Regions from separate parts of the Homo sapiens genome. Here all the other regions are linked to region 1. Evidence: promoter capture Hi-C in 16 types of primary human blood cells and fetal thymus (Javierre and others, 2016). All regions are on one chromosome and are shown on one strand. Each heading gives the region's core, a stretch centred on a gene start or on the middle of the fragment in contact. The rest is flanking DNA. Distances are from core to core; before and after follow the strand shown. Region 1 holds the start of SFXN5 (sideroflexin 5). Region 2 has its middle 27 kb from the start of NOTO. Region 3 has its middle 26 kb from the start of RAB11FIP5. Region 4 has its middle 5.8 kb from the start of NOTO.

Region 1 (3,777 bases), core at 1,000-3,499:
GCAAGAGCTCCTCTGGGACCACCACTTCTTCAGGAGAGGGCCTGTGGGCTTGCTTTTGGAAGGCCTCAGGCAGACACGTGCCCTCTGGGTGATGTCTGTCTGCTGCCAGGATGGAGCAGAGGAGCGCCACACATGGAGGAAAGCCCCTGTAACGTTACCTACCTTAAACTCCACTCATCAAATCTGAGAAAAGTATCCACTGGTCCCCAGGGTTTCAGTCATGCTTTTGGGGGTCATTGGGTATTAGAGAAGTAAGTATCTTTTCTGAGAGAGGGGGAGTCACCCCCCCTACTGGGGATTCCTCTGGGCTTTATTCACTCCCAGCCCTGGCCCTGACCTTTGTGGGCCTCCCTAATGCCCAGGGCATGGATGGCTTCAGAGGAGTTTTTGAATCGAAGCCCAGGGTCCTTGTTGATGTTTCTTCTCCTAGCCACACTTGGAGGAAAGTTGCAGGTGGGTTGGGCAGGGAGCAGGCATGGTTCTGCTTTGCTGTTTGTCTTCCTAGTTAAGGCTCTTTATAAAGAGCTTGTTCTTCATGTTTTAAGCACTTTATGAAGAATAAAACATTCATGTACTGCAGGTGGCTCTGTTGTGTTCCTGTTTTGGAATGAACAGTTACAGGAGGCTGCTGTGGGAGAAAGCACCTTAAATCAAGGTGATGGGATTCTTGGATGACACTGTCCCTGCCCCTTATAAGGGGGCAGCAGCACAGTGTTGCCCAGCAGCCTGAACTTAGTCTTTTCTGACTCCCAGGGTACCCACATTTATTGCGCACCTAAGATGGGCCCATTTATTGGTAATACAGAGGGTAAGAAATGGATTCCTATTCTCAAGTTGCATGGTCTAGCAGGGGAAGATAAGATACAAATCCAAGATACAAATAGTTCTTCATGGCTAGATAGAATCTCTAAGATAAGATACAAATCCAAGATACAAATTGTTCTTCGTGGCTAGCTAGAATCTCCCCCTAGCTTTATGAAAAGTGTTTCTTGTGGTTCAACTACTAGAGGATGAAAAACTTTGACTGCTACAGCTCATGTAGTGTCCAGAAACACTGGCAGACATGAGCCAACCCTGCACTCCACCACGAGACTAATGAGACCCAAAGTGGAGTTCCCTAGAAGACCAAATATTTCTACTGTCATCTTGGGCAAAACAGGCAGCTCCCGAAGTCTGGCTCACTGACCAGGTAATTCAGCTGGGAATCTTCAGCTAATCCATTCTACAACTGTATGTGTTTATTATCCATACTGATCCTTACTCCACAATCTGTAATACTCCCCCTTACCTAACACCCTCCCCACCCACCCTAGTCCCAAGTTCTCCTCCTGCCCAGGAATTAGGCCCAGGAGGGATCTTCCTTGGTTGGCCAGACAAGGTGAAAGCTGCCAGGGCTCTTAATCCCCCACTGATGAACTCACAGCCAACACTTATTTGAGTCTCTACTGTGAGCCCTTTTATGTCTGGCTCTGAAAACTGAAGTGAATCAAAAAGTCATAGCCCCTGCCCTGTGAACTTTACAGTAAGAAAGACTGTCCAGAACAGTAAGTAGTTGTGAGTGCAAAAGAGAAGTGCTGGGTGCCACGGAGCCTCTGTGGGATTTTGTGCAAGCAGAGTGATGGACTGGGAAATGCAATGTTTAGGCTAAAGCCAGAAAGCCAGCATCAGGCGAAGATTTAGTCTTCCGGGTACAGAATGTTCAGGGGTCGGGAGGCGGGCAGGCCCCAGCATGCTCCAGGAACTGAGTGTCAGGGCAGCCGGAGAGCACAGGACGAGTGGGCAGGGTGGCGACGGAGGAAAGTACGAGAAGGTCCGCAGTGCAACTCCTTGGAGAAAGCCTTCCGAGGTTAACCCTACTCCGCCTGGAGTCTTTGCCCATCTGGTCCCAGGTTCCCCCTTGAATGGGACCCTTCTGCGCTGCCTGGCCCCAGGAGCGACGCCCACGGCAGCAACTCTAACTTCTGGGGGCAACTAAGCAGCGAGGGGTGGCCCGTGGTCGTCGTACAGGAACACCTTTCCTGGACTGCCGACCTTGCACCTTGCAACGCGGACAGCGGGCACCGAGACCTCTCCGGACGGCCGCAACTCTCCGCAGTCTACGGTTGTAAGCGCCGCGACGCGAAAAACTACACTCCCCACAACGCCTTGCGCCTCCCGCTCGCTGCGGTTGATTAGGGCCAATCGGGAGAGGCAGCTGTGGCGGGGGCCGAGGAGGGACATTTTAAAAGGGCCGGAGATTGCGGGCGTCAGTGGCCATGGCGGATACAGCGACTACAGCATCGGCGGCGGCGGCTAGTGCCGCTAGCGCCTCGAGCGATGCACCTCCTTTCCAACTGGGCAAACCCCGCTTCCAGCAGGTGAGGACCGGGCTGTGGTCTGCGGGCCGGCGGGTGGCAAAGAGAGGACGAGCAAACTCCCCTCCAAAGTCCCCTTCCGCCCAAGGGTCTCCCACCCGCGGCCAGCGGAGCCTGCAGCTAGCGCCAGGGGGGGAACCTCGGTCACAGTCACCCTTTTCCCATTGGTCAACGGGGCGGGCGCGGACTCCCATCTTGGCTTCCTATTGGCCCTTGGCGCCGTCACTCCCCGACTGCCCGCGCCCTCTAGCCTTTCCCGCCCGCGGCGCCCTGTGATTGGCCACCGGCGGCTGCGGTCAAGGTCCCGAGCGCCCGGCTTCGAGCGGCTGCTCAGGGTCGCTCCGGGTTGTGCAGCTGCCCGCCCGGGACGCAAAGTTCTAGTCTGGCCCTGGATGGGAAGTTGGCGTGGCCGGGATGCCTTCTAACTTTTTCCCCCGGTGGGGACTGACGTTCCTTTCGAGCTGCTGGCGGTGCCGCCGGGCAGCGTCGCGCCCCGCGGTCACTCCCCAGCCCTGGCCCCCAAGCCGGGCTCGGCGCGCGCAGCAGGTTGAGGGGGCGAGTGCCGAGGCGAGCGGCGGTCCGGCGTCCCCCGTCCCTGCTCTCCATCTCGGGCTGAGGATTCGCTGACGCAGCAAGCCGGCCGATGCCCTGAGGGGACGCAGCCAGGGCGTGCGGGGGAAACGCTGTGTCATCCCCTGGGGCCGTCGTCCCTCCGAGGGGCTGCCGCCTGGGAACCCCCCCCCAGCCTCTTCCTCGCTGTGTTCTCCGCGGAGGGTCTCCCGCGCCCGGGCCCCCGCGCCGCCGGGGACTGGCTCTGGGCACACCCGCTCAGGCTCTTCGGGGCACGGCGACAGGGGTCCTTTCCCTCCGGGACCTCCTCTGGGGCGTCGCCGACTCGGCCCTAGACTGCGGAGGCGGGGGTGGAACGCGGAGCCCGGGCGCCTGGTTGGGCCCGGAGACCGGAGCCGGGGAGGGGCCGCTCCCGCGCCGCAGACCCTCGGGCTCCCGCGCCTCCCGCACCAATGAGACGGAATTTATTAGGAAACAGGCAGAGAGACCGCTGAAGTGAACCGGGGCTTGCCAGGGGTGGGCGGCAGCCGAGGCGGCCAGAAAAGAACTTTGAAGGAAGAAAGGAAATTGTGCTAAGGTCGGTGCGGTGGCTTTTTTTTTCTTTTTTTGTTGTTGTGGTGGAAGGGGACTGGTTCCAGCAAGGGGGTGCCCCGAGCTTTGCTGATAATTAGGGAACTTGGCTCCTGAGCCGTCTGAAAAAAATGTCCCCAGTGTTTCTTAACAGGACTTTAATTCCTTTTAAAAGTAGGCCATCTCAGCATGTAGGTATCCGAGGCGAGACTGGCATCTTCCTTCCAGTGTAGGAGGCCATCTAGGGCGAGAGTGTCGGGGTGTCCCTGCCTGGACTTGAGTG
Region 2 (3,611 bases), core at 615-3,114, 100 kb before region 1:
TGAGGTCCCCTGAAAAGTGGGGTGATAGTGTCAGGTGGTACTGAGCCCAGTGATGGAGGCAGCAATTTGTTTTGTAAGTGCCTGCGGCTCCTGGGCGCAGTCCCAGCGAGGACGCGAGAACGCGCGGGGATGTGAACGGTGGGGGGCGCCCGGAACCGAGGAGCTGAAGGGCCCGGCGGACGTAGGCCGTCATTTCTCGCGGCGAGCAGCAGGGGGCGCGCGCAGACTGTACAATGCTGGCGCCCCACCTCCCGGCAGCGGGCGGGGACGCATCCCGCGGGTCTCTAGAGCGGGAGATCGCGCGGGAAAGGGCCGTGCCGGGAAGGGGCTGTGCCGGGAAGGAGCGGAGGGATCAGTGCTTCGAAGGGATCTGTACGCCAAGATGATCCTAACTCCTTAGGAGCTTCGAAGCTACGGGAAATGAAGCTGGAACGGGGGAGAGGGGGAAGGGCGCTGTGCCCCGGGGGCGGTAAAGGATGGGTGGTGGTGGGGAACGGGGACACTGTCGAGCGCTGACTACCGCTGCGCTCGGGCTGGTGGAGTCACTGCTTCCTAACTGTGGGGAAGAAACAAACATTCCCCGCCCCTCCTCCCAGGAGGAAGAGCCGGTCACTTCTGGAAGTCCCAGCAGCTCACTACGGAACTTAGGGGAGGGTGAAGAAGAGAAGGCGTAGAGCGGGGAAGTGGCTTGGTCAGTTCAGAAGCACCAATAGCATAGGACTTCATAACCTTCCAAGAAGAGGGCTGGTTACAAAGCGTCTTCGCCTCCCAGGGGCTGGGTTGGGGGTGTCCCAGGAGCCAGAGTGAGGCATGAGTGGGGAGTCCCTGCGTCACTCCAGAGAGGAGGCCCGCTTGGGCACAGGTGCCCCAGGGACCAGCCTACTGCGCTTTCAAGCCCCTACGTCTTTCTAAGGGATGAGGGATCCTATCCTAGACCAAACCTGCCAGCCCATACTGAACATACCGCCTTTCTTTGAAAGAAAAGTGGGGGGGAGGCTAAAGACCTTCGCAGAGGGACCCTGAGATGGAATCAGATGCTAAATTTGCGCACAGCCCTCTGAGCTGGAAAACTGGAGAACTTCCTGGAGGAAGAGGCTGGGAGCTAGCTGTGCCTTGATAGGTGGGCAGAATTTGGAGAAGCCAGGGCAAAGTCTTGTTTGTAGGAATGAGCAGTCCGCCTGGGAAACGGGAAAGAGTTGGAATTTGCGGGGCGGGAGGGCAGGGGCAGGGCCAGAGGAACTCTAGCTGGGGGTGCGGCTACCAGGAGAGGAGCTGGTTCTGGAGTTCTAGGCTGTCCTTCCGACCTCTGGGGGCCCTGAGATCTGGTTTAAGACTCGGTCTTGTACCCTGGGGCTGCTGGATGCCTGCCGAAGTCTCGCTTCCCGGAGCAGCTGAGGACTCAGCCCTGCGGCTGAGGTCCGCGAGTTCCCTGGACATCACCGGGTGTCGTGCCCGCCGCCCCGCCCTGCGGTCGCGGGCACTGACCCCCAAGTACGCACCGGGCGGGGCCCCGCCACTCTCCAGTCTTCACACCTCCGCCTTTGGGTCTTTTTCCTTCCCTTCCCCAACCGGTTCCCCTTCCCCTCGACCCACTAGGCAGACGGGGAACTAGGGGTGCGGGAGACGGGAGGGTTAGAACCAGGCCTCAAGACGGCGCGGCGAGGTGTGCCTGAGGATGGGGCGAAAGGAGACCGTGCCCGGGTGGCCTCTCCCGAAGGAAAAACCCGTCGCTCCCCATCCGGTGCCTGCCTCCCCGAGTATCCCCCGGGGTGGGCGTCGAGGGCACCCGGGCGCTGGGAGCCGGGGCCGCCCCCTTCCCCCACCACCGAGTCACTGCCGGGCAGGCACCGCCGCGGGCGGAATCGAGCACTGGGGATTGAGGCGGCCGCCGCGTGTTTGCCCAGCGCCCGCCCCCGCCGCCGCGGGCCCTAATCTCCGATACACTTGCGAGTTGGCTTCCTGCCCCGGGGCCCCGGCTCTGCAAGCAAACAGGCCGAGCGCGGCGCTGCATCCGAAATGCGGCATTTGAGCAGCGCGGCGAAGGCGAGCGGGGGAGCGGCCCACCCGGGTAATTGCCCTTCTCGGCTCCTAATCCCCCCGCCGGGCCCCTTCCGCCGGCTGCAGCCCATTGATTAGCTCAGGAGCCGCCGGCTCAACCCAGCTCCCGAGGGGCCATCACAATCCCCACCCTGGGCCCGGGAGGCTGTCAGGACCCCCGCGGGGTCCTTCCGGACTCAGAGCGGGAGCGTGCTCCTGGAAAGGGCAGTGAGATCGCCAGGGAAAAGATGGGGTGGGGGAGAAAGGGGACGTCCAAAAACTTGCAATGGAGCCCAGGCCATGCACGCCCCAGGCCGAGAAAGGCGGGACCTCAGACCCTGCTGTCCCGGTGAAGGAGACAGTGCAGAGGGCCCTTGAGCGCGACTGGGCTTGACACCCCTGAGAGCTCACTGTGGAGCCCGGGTTAGGAGATCCCCAACCACCCAAACACAAATCACCCTCAAGACCCCGTACTTATGCGGTGGCCTGAGCCTGCTTCCTGTGGTCTGCCCAGAGAAACCTGGGCCTCACAGGAGAGGAATGCCAAGTGCTTCAAGCTGGGAAATTGACATGGTCCATTCTACAAAATAGAGCTCAGTGCAGATGAGGAGAGAAATAGGGTTCTATGGAGCCTTTCGGGGCAAACCCACTGATGACTGGGTGATAGCTTCACAGGGACAAGACCCAGTTGCCATCTGGGGTGAGTTTTGTTTCTTCCCTCCCACCTTTCAGCTTCCTATCTGAGCCTGAACTTACACCCCTTCCCCCTCCCAGAATAGCCACCCCAGGCCAGGAAAACTGAGCATTTGCCTACTGAGTCGACCTCCCTGAGTCTAGGCCCACAGTTCAAAGCCTGACTTCTCTGTGCAGGGGCAAGGCTTGCTGCGGGGCCCTCTGGGATCTGGTGAGCAGGGGCCTTCTCTGACACCCTGAAACCTGGGAACAAACACTGGGGTTGGGGGCAGAGGCTGGGCCAATGTAGAACACAACAGCAGAGACACAGGAGAGAAATCAGGCTTCTGGCTAAGAGGAAACCATAGCAAACTAGACCCTCATGCCTCAGTGACCTCCCCTTGTATACCCTTGAACACGGCTGCACTAGGGTGAGGCAAGTGACGTTCCACTGAGGCACACATCTTAAGGAGGCACTCCCTCTCGAGGCCCTGTAAATGCAGGGCTAGCACCTGAGGGAGTGCGTCCTCCCCTCACTCTCATCCTTGGCCTGCCCTCATCTTGCCTAAGAGAGCTGTCCCCTGGCCTCAGATAGCTCCAGTCACTCCCATAACCTGTTGATTTGCCTCAGAGCCCCCCCATCACCTCGCCGTCATCCTCACTACTCACTCGGTTGGTACTGACTATATCTTAGGTGGAACAGCGCGAGGCAGGGACGTCATGCTTTGCAGTCACTGCCAAGAGCAGTACCTGTGTTATTCAGACACAAAGCTAGGCTCTATTCAGACATGGAGTGCTGAATAATACCTGAGTGAGTAAATACCATGTGTCTGCCACCCTCTTCTCCCTGAGGCCTGCCTGAATACTTTCCCCTAGACACGGCTGGCTGCAGTGGGCACTTC
Region 3 (3,729 bases), core at 867-3,366, 67 kb before region 1:
CTGGGAGGCAGAGGTTGCAGTGAGCTGAGATCGCACCATTGAACCATTGCACTCCAGCCTGGGCAAGAGGAGTGAAACTCTGTCTCAAAAAAAAAAAAAAAAAAAAAATAGAAAACAGAAAAATGATAGAGAAAAATCAATAAAACAAAAGGTCTGTTTTTTGAAAAGGTTAACAAAATTGAGAAATTTTTAGCTAGACTGACCAAGAGAAAGAGAAAACATAAATTACAAAATCACTACTGACCACACAGAAACAAAAATAATTACAAGGAAATATTACAAATTGAACAATTTGGATGAAATGGACAAATTCCCAGAAAGATACAGATTATTAAAACTGACTCAAGAAGAAATAAAGTCTGAATAGGCCTATAGCAAGTAAATAATGGGATTAGTACTTAAAATCTCCCCACAAAGAAAAACCCAGTCACAGAACACTTTACTAGTGAATTCTATCAAATAATTTAAAAACACATAATACCAATCTTTCACAAATTATTTCAGAAAATAGGGGAAGAAAGTACACTTCCGAACTCATTCTGTGAGGCCAGTATTACCCTGATTCAAGACAAAGATATCATATGAAAAGAAAGCTACAGACCAACATCCTTTTTGAACACAGATGTAAAAATCCTTAGCACAAAATTAGCAAATAAAACCCAGCAACACATACATAGAAGCGTATACCATGACCAAGTGGGCTTTATCCCAGGAAAGCAAGGTTGAGTTAACATCTGAAAACCAATTAAGATGAATCACTGTATTAATAAAATAAAGGACAAAATCATATGATCTCAACAGATGCAGAAAAAACATTTGACAAAATCCAACATCCATTGATGGTTAAAAAAAAACCCTTGAACTTGGAATAAAAGGGAGCTCTCTTAACTTGATAAAGCATATCTAACTGAAACCTACCATCAACATTACATATAATGATGCAAGACTGAATGTTTCTCCTTGAGATCAGGAACAAGGCAAGAATGTCAGCTCTTGCCACTTTCAATCAACATTGTCCTGGAGATTCAAGTCAGTGTGATAAGGCCAAAAAATAAGAATAAAGGCATCAACATTGGAAAAGAAGTAAAACTGTCTTTTTTTCCCACAGATGACGTGATCCTGTATATAGAAACAACAACAAACTACTGTTGTCGCCTGTAATCTCAGCACTTAGAGAGGCCAAGGCAGGAGGATTGCTTGAGCCAGCCTGGGCAACATAGCAAGACCCATCTCTAAAAACAAAACAAAACAGATAAACTATTATTGTTAAGATAGCAATATTGTAATATTGCCCAAATGGATCTGCAAATTTAATGCAATCCTGTGACATAACAAGAAATATATATTTGGTCTCTTCCCCGGGTTCCTAGCACAGAGCTGCTAAAAGTCTTGTGATTCCCCTGAGTGATAGGGGTGAGAGGAACACCTTTGGTTATTCATAATAAGCCCCTTTCAACCATACCTGGGTTTATGCTAATGAGGTGACTCTTGGAGGATGGGGGCTGGTTGACAGAGGAACCAACCTTGTAATTAGAGGGTTGGAATTTTCAGCCCCATCTCTTTGACCTCTGGGGAGGGGAGAAGGGCTGAAGATTAATGTCAGTCACAGAAGGTCAATGATTTAATAAATCATGCCTACATAATGGGACTTCCATAAAAACCCTAAATGACAGGGTTTGGAGATCTTCCAGGTTGGTGAACACATTAAGGTGCTGGGAGGGTGCGAGGCCTGAAAGGCTATGGAAGCTCTGTGCCCCTCCCTCCTCATACCCTGTCTCTTCCATTTGGCTGTTCCTGAGTTGTATCCTTTATAATAAACCGTACATGTAAGTGCTTCCCTGAGTTCTGCGAGCCATTACAGCAGATTATTGAATCTGAATAGGTGGTTGTAGGAAACCCTCACTTGTAGCTAAGTCACACAGAAGTGTGGGTAACCTGGGGACCCATTACTTGAGATTGGCATTTGAAGTCAGGGGCAGTATTGTGGGACTGAGCCCTTAAGCTTTGGGGTCTCACACTAACTCCAGGTAGCTACTGTCAGAGTTGAATTGAGTCATTGGACACCCAGTTGATGTTTGCAGAGAACTGAAGAATTGCTTGATGTGCGGGGAAAAAAATCCCAGACATTTGGTTTCGGAAGTGTTTTTGAGTATAGAAAACCTGTTTGTTTTCCCCTTTCAATACCTATCAAAATCTTGGTTGCCATTTTTGCTGAAATTGACAAGCTTATTCTAAAATTAATATGGAAATGCAAAGGATCTGGAATAGTGAAAATGATCTTGGAAAATAACAAAACTGGAGGACTCACACTTTCTGATTTCAAAACTTACTACAAAGCTACAGTAATCAAAACAATGTGGTATTGGCATAAGGATAGACATACAGGCCAATGGACTAGAATTTAGAGCTCAGACCTCACATGTAAGGTCTACTTATTTTTGGCCAAGGCAATTCAGTGGGAAAAGATATTTAATACAGTGTTGGTAAGGATGTGGAGAAACCAGATACCTCATACATTTCTGATGAGAATGTAAAATGGGCTAGGCACAGTGGCTTATGCTTGTAATCCCAGCACTTTGGGAGGCTGAGGTGGGTGGATCACTTGAGGTCAGGAGTTTGAGACCAGCCTGGCCCACATGGTGAAACCATGTCTCTACTAAAAATACAAAAAAATTAGCCGGGTGTGGGGGCGCATGATAGTCTCAGATATTCGGGAGGTTGAGGCAGGAGAATCAGTTGAGCCCAGGTGGCAGAGGTTGCAGTGAGCTGAAATTGTGTCACTGCACTTCAGCCTGGGCGACAGAGGGAGACCCTGTCTCAAAAAAAAAAAAAAAAAAAAAAAAAGAAAAAAGGAAAAGAAAAAGAGAATGTAAAATGTTACAGCCACTTCGAAGAACAGTTTGGCAGTTTCTTAAAAAGTTAAAACGAAAAACTTACCATTCCTAGGTATCTACCCAAAAGAAATGAAAACATATGTCCACAAAGACTTGTACATGAATATTCAGAGCAGCACTATTCATAATAACCCCAAACAGGAAACAGTCCAAATATCCATAAACAGGTTAATGGATCAACAAAATGTGGTAATGTGGTATATTCACACGACAGAACACAGCAATGAAAAGGAACTGCTTTTTTTTTTTTTTTTTGAGATGGAGTCTTGCTCTGTCGCCAGGCTGGAGTGCAGTGGCGCGATCTTGGCTCACTGCAACCTCTGCCTCCCGGATTCAAGCAATTCTACTGCCTCAGCCTCCTGAGTGGCTGGGATTACAGGCGCCCGCCACCACGCCCGGCTAATTTTTTTTTTTTTTTTGAGACAGAGTCTCGCTGTCACCCAGGCTGGAGTGTAGTGGCGCGACCTCGGCTCACTGCAAGCTCCGCCTCCCGGGTTCACGTCATTCTCCTGCCTCAGCCTCCCGAGTAGCTGGGACTACAGGCGCCCGCCGCCACGCCGGGCTAATTTTTTGTATTTTTAGTAGAGACGGGGTTTCACCGTGTTAGCCAGGATGGTCTCGATCTCCTGACCTCGTGATCTGCGTGCCTCGGCCTCCCAAAGTGCTGGGATTACAGGCGTGAGCCACCGCGCTCGGCCAAAAAGGAACTACTTTTTAGTAAAAAGGTCAGGCGTGGAAGCTCATGCGTATAATCCCGGCACTTTGGGATGCTGGGGTGGGAAGATCCCTTGAACCCAGGAGTTCAAGACCAACCTGGGCAACATAGAGAGACCCT
Region 4 (3,872 bases), core at 1,240-3,739, 120 kb before region 1:
CAGGGTAATGGTAAGACCAGTGAATACCATGAGCCTGAGCCCATTGCTGTTCTTTACTTGCTGTGAAATAATTCTTTTGTCAGAAGCAATGCTATATGGAATGCCAAAGCATTCTATAAGTTCAGAGATGTTGATTTTGGCAGAAGCATTGTGGGCAGAGAAAGCAAATCTATGTCACAGTAAATGGATATTCCAGTAAGAACAAAGTAATGCCCCTATGTGATTACCCTGGCACTAGGTGGCTAGTTGGTTTTCATATTGGGGGCTCAGTGTTGGTCTCTGCTGTTGGCAGGTTGGGCACTCAGCAATGGCTGTAGTCAGATTGGTTTTAGGGAATGGAAATCCATGTTACTAAGCCCCTGTCCAACCTCCATCCCTCTCGCCATGTTCACATTTTTCATGAGCCATTATGGTAACCACACCTACTTGTCACATCATCCCCATTGAATTTTGGGAGCCCAGCTTGATAGCATAAGTTCCCTCCGTCATTTCGGGCCTACAGAGAATAGCCACCATCGAGTTCTTCAAGGATATCAGGGCTTTCCTCTTGAATGCATTTCTCATAGGCTTGATGAAGGAAGTGTCTTCTAGAACTAACCTGGGCACATATTACAGGGGCAGGTAAATAGGTCTTCCATGGCAAGTCTACCCTAGCATTCTAGCCTTCCTTAGCCATTTGATACCTCTTCTACAGTGTGCCAACTTCATCTAGAAGTTGATATCAACCAACTGAACAAACTGTTAGACTCACTCAAGCTAGGACATTGAATCAGGAATCTCTGCTTAGTTGGCCCTTATAAATAGATTCAGCCTAATATGACTTTATATTTCTTCTGTCCTCATCTCACACCTTTGGGATCCATGTCCATACATTTCCCCAGGTTTCTGTATATGTAAATTGGCAACATCATGAAATTGTTTTGGTGTGTATCATACCACTGTCTCATGGGAAAGGCTTTGTACTTCATTCTCTGTAGCCTGTTTGAACTTGAGTCTACCAGCAATGAGAGGCAGTGGAGGTAAATCCAGAGGGCCACCACTTCAAGGAAGGCCATTACAAGACCTTCAGGCAAGGGGAGATTCACTTCTTTTTTTTGAGACAGGGTCTTGCTCTGTCACCCAGGCTGGAGTGAAGTGATGTGATCATATCTCATTGTAACCTTGAACTCCTGGGCTAAATGGATCCTCCTGCCTCATGCCCAGCTAATTTTTCTTTTTCTTTCCTGTTTTTTTTTTTTTTGGTTTTGTTATTTTTAGTTCTTTTTGAAACCAAAGAAACCATTGGCTAATTTTTTAAATTTTTTGTAGAGACAGAGTTGCACAGGCAGGTCTTGAGCTCATGGGCTTAAGCAATCCTCCTGCCTCAGCCTCCCAAAATGCTGGGATTACAGGCATGAGCCACTGCGCCTAGCTGAGATTCACTTTTTCAGATAAGAGTGGAAAGTTACTTCTACTGTGAAAAGAGATTCAGCAGAATTTAGGGGCTCAGATTTGTTGGAACCTGGCCATATATATCTTCATCGCAATTTTTACAGTCTCTCTTCTTCCCAATCAATGACACAATTTTTAGCAGAAGAGACCTGAGAGGTTGGGAACATAATTTACATCATAGGACAGCCACAAAACTTTCAGGTCCTTTCCATGGACCTTGAGATGGGAATTCAAAATCCCGACTCCTCATATTCTTTCCCTAAATTCTTCAGGGCACTTAGAAACAACTCACCAATGTCATCATAATTGTTATATTCAAGCAAACATTTGGTCAATCAAAGATTTGACTTCTATAGACACCTGATTACAGTGTCTGCAAGTGATCATTTAAATAACTTTTTTGGCTGAGTGCAGTGGCTCACACCTGTAATCCCAGCACTTTGGGAGGCCGAGGCGGGCAGATCACCTGAGGTCAGTTCGAGACCAGCCTGGCCAACATGGTGAAACCCCATCTCTACTAAAAATACAAAAATTAGCCGGTCGTGGGGCTGGGTGCCGGTATTCTCAGCTACTTGAGAGGCTAAGGCAGGAGAATCGCTTGAACCCAGGAGGCAAAGGTTGCACTGAGCCGAGATCTTGCCATTGCACTCCAGCCTAGGCAACAAGAGTGTCAGACTCTGTCTCAAAAATAAATAAATTAAAATTAAAATTAAAATTAAATAAATAAATAACTTTTTTTCCTATGGCATACCATGAAGAACCAGTGATCTCTTTACCCCTGACAACCTCTGGTAAGGGTTATTTATGCCTTTAAATCTATTTAGGTCACAGAATCAATTCTAGATGACCCAGACTGAACCCATCACCCACTAAGGTTCTGTTATTCTTGGAACCATGTCCAGTAGCAGATTCTCTATTAGTCATGATCCAATCGGAGAAGCAGGACCCCTAGGAGTGACAAAGAATAAAGGATTTTTTTTTTTGAGATGGGGATCTTGCTCTGTTGCCCAGGCACATCTTGAACTCCTGGACTCAATGATTCTCTTGCCTCAGCCTCCTGAGTAGCTGAGATTACAGGTGCACACCACTGTGCCTAACAGAATAAAGGATTTTTTTTTTTCATCATACTCAACCCCAAAGAATAAAGGATTTTATTATGGGAATTTGACCTTACACAACTGTGGGAACTGGTAATAGCTCTCTGTGAGGATGTTACTTCTTTGTCTGGGTCTGGGACTAAAGTCCACAGGCAGGCATTGGGGAAGGAAAGATGGATGTGAAGTGGGAAAATTAGGACAAACTGGAACCCAGGAAGAAGGGCAAGAATGAGCTAAAACCTGCCTCAGTCTCACACCACCTCCAAGCCTCTCATTTTGTTAATGCAGGTGACTTGCAAGGAAGTCTGGTGTCCTTCATTCTGAAACTAAGCACATACTCGGCTCAGGAGCTGGGAAAACAGAAGAGGGTCTGGTGGGAGCTGAAGGACCTACACGCCCAGCTGTGGCCTCCATCTGCAAAACGAGCCAGTAGATCTGCCATAATGCGTGTGAGCTGCCATAGCACCTGCTCTGCACTGCTAAACACGGCTGCTGCTTCACTTCTGTGTCCTAAGCATCATGCCCAAAACCATTCAGGGAAGGAAATTCCGGGAAATGTAGTTCCAGCTTAGCTAAGTTGACACAACAAATTTATAATAAGGTTTAACCGGCCAGGCGCGGTTATCCCAGCACTTTGGGAGGCCAAGGTGGGCAGATCACGAGGTCAGGAGTTCAAGACCAGTCTGGCCAATATGGTGAAACCCCGTCTCTACTAAAAATACAAAAATTAGCCGGGCATGGTGGCATGCATCTGTAGTCCCAGCTATTTGGGAGGCTGAGGCAGAAGAATTGCTTGAACCCAGGAGGTGGAGGTTGCAGTGAGCTGAGATCGGGCCACTCCACTCCAGCCTGGGCAACAGAGTGAGACTCTGTCTCAAAAAAAAAAAAAAAAAAGTTTAACCATGTATAACATAAAACATAAATACCTTGGTAAAAGTCTAAAGGCATTCTTAGGCATGATAAACATGACAATCAAAATAAAGATGAGCTCCGGGTAGGGAGAAGGGAGTAGGATTAGGGAGGGTCACTTGGGCTGTCAACTTTCTGTATTGTTTTATTTCTTAACACAAAACAACCATAGTAAAAATGTTTGATGAAACTGAGTAGTGGTGGGTATATGGATATTCTTTTTATTATTCTCTATACTTGTCTATAGGCTTGAAATGTTTCATATTTTTTTCCTACCCCTCTGTATTTAAAAAAAAATTTTTGGCCAGGCCCAGTGGCTCACGTCTATAATCCCAGCACTTTGGGAGGCCGAGGTAGGCAGATCACTTGAAGTCAGGAGTTCCAGACTAGCCTGGCCAACATGGTGAAACCCCGTCTCTACAAAAAATACAAAAA

Evidence for each region. The method cuts DNA at HindIII sites, captures the fragments that hold promoters and counts their contacts. A CHiCAGO score of 5 or more calls a contact.
Region 2: a fragment that was not itself captured here is called in contact with the fragment with the promoter of SFXN5 in region 1 in 2 of 17 cell types (naive B cells and non-activated CD4 T cells); the score reaches 5.4 in naive B cells.
Region 3: a fragment that was not itself captured here is called in contact with the fragment with the promoter of SFXN5 in region 1 in 1 of 17 cell types (total CD8 T cells); the score reaches 5.1 in total CD8 T cells.
Region 4: a contact is called between a fragment that was not itself captured here and the fragment with the promoter of SFXN5 in region 1, in 10 of 17 cell types (activated CD4 T cells, naive CD8 T cells, naive CD4 T cells and 7 more). The highest score is 8.2, in activated CD4 T cells.

The regions. Positions count from the first base shown.
Region 1 is chr2:73,070,184-73,073,960 of GRCh38, reverse strand. It overlaps SFXN5 (sideroflexin 5), which reads left to right and starts at 2,249. Exons shown (of 14, transcript NM_144579.3): 1 at 2,249-2,357. The coding sequence starts at 2,256. It overlaps RAB11FIP5 (RAB11 family interacting protein 5), which reads left to right. Exons shown (of 6, transcript NM_001371272.1): 6 at 1-579. RefSeq lists enhancers at 1,651-2,130, 2,331-2,380 and a silencer at 2,521-3,310. The HindIII fragment of the contact is 14,604 bases long and covers 1-3,777 here.
Region 2 is chr2:73,174,148-73,177,758 of GRCh38, reverse strand. No RefSeq gene overlaps it. Among named protein-coding and RNA genes, the nearest start is that of NOTO, 27 kb to the left of the region's middle. RefSeq lists silencers at 295-374, 1,680-1,899 and enhancers at 197-870, 871-1,544. The HindIII fragment of the contact is 7,933 bases long and covers 1-3,611 here.
Region 3 is chr2:73,136,883-73,140,611 of GRCh38, reverse strand. No RefSeq gene overlaps it. Among named protein-coding and RNA genes, the nearest start is that of RAB11FIP5, 26 kb to the right of the region's middle. The HindIII fragment of the contact is 223 bases long and covers 2,005-2,227 here.
Region 4 is chr2:73,194,855-73,198,726 of GRCh38, reverse strand. No RefSeq gene overlaps it. Among named protein-coding and RNA genes, the nearest start is that of NOTO, 5.8 kb to the left of the region's middle. RefSeq lists a silencer at 3,758-3,872. The HindIII fragment of the contact is 7,497 bases long and covers 1-3,872 here.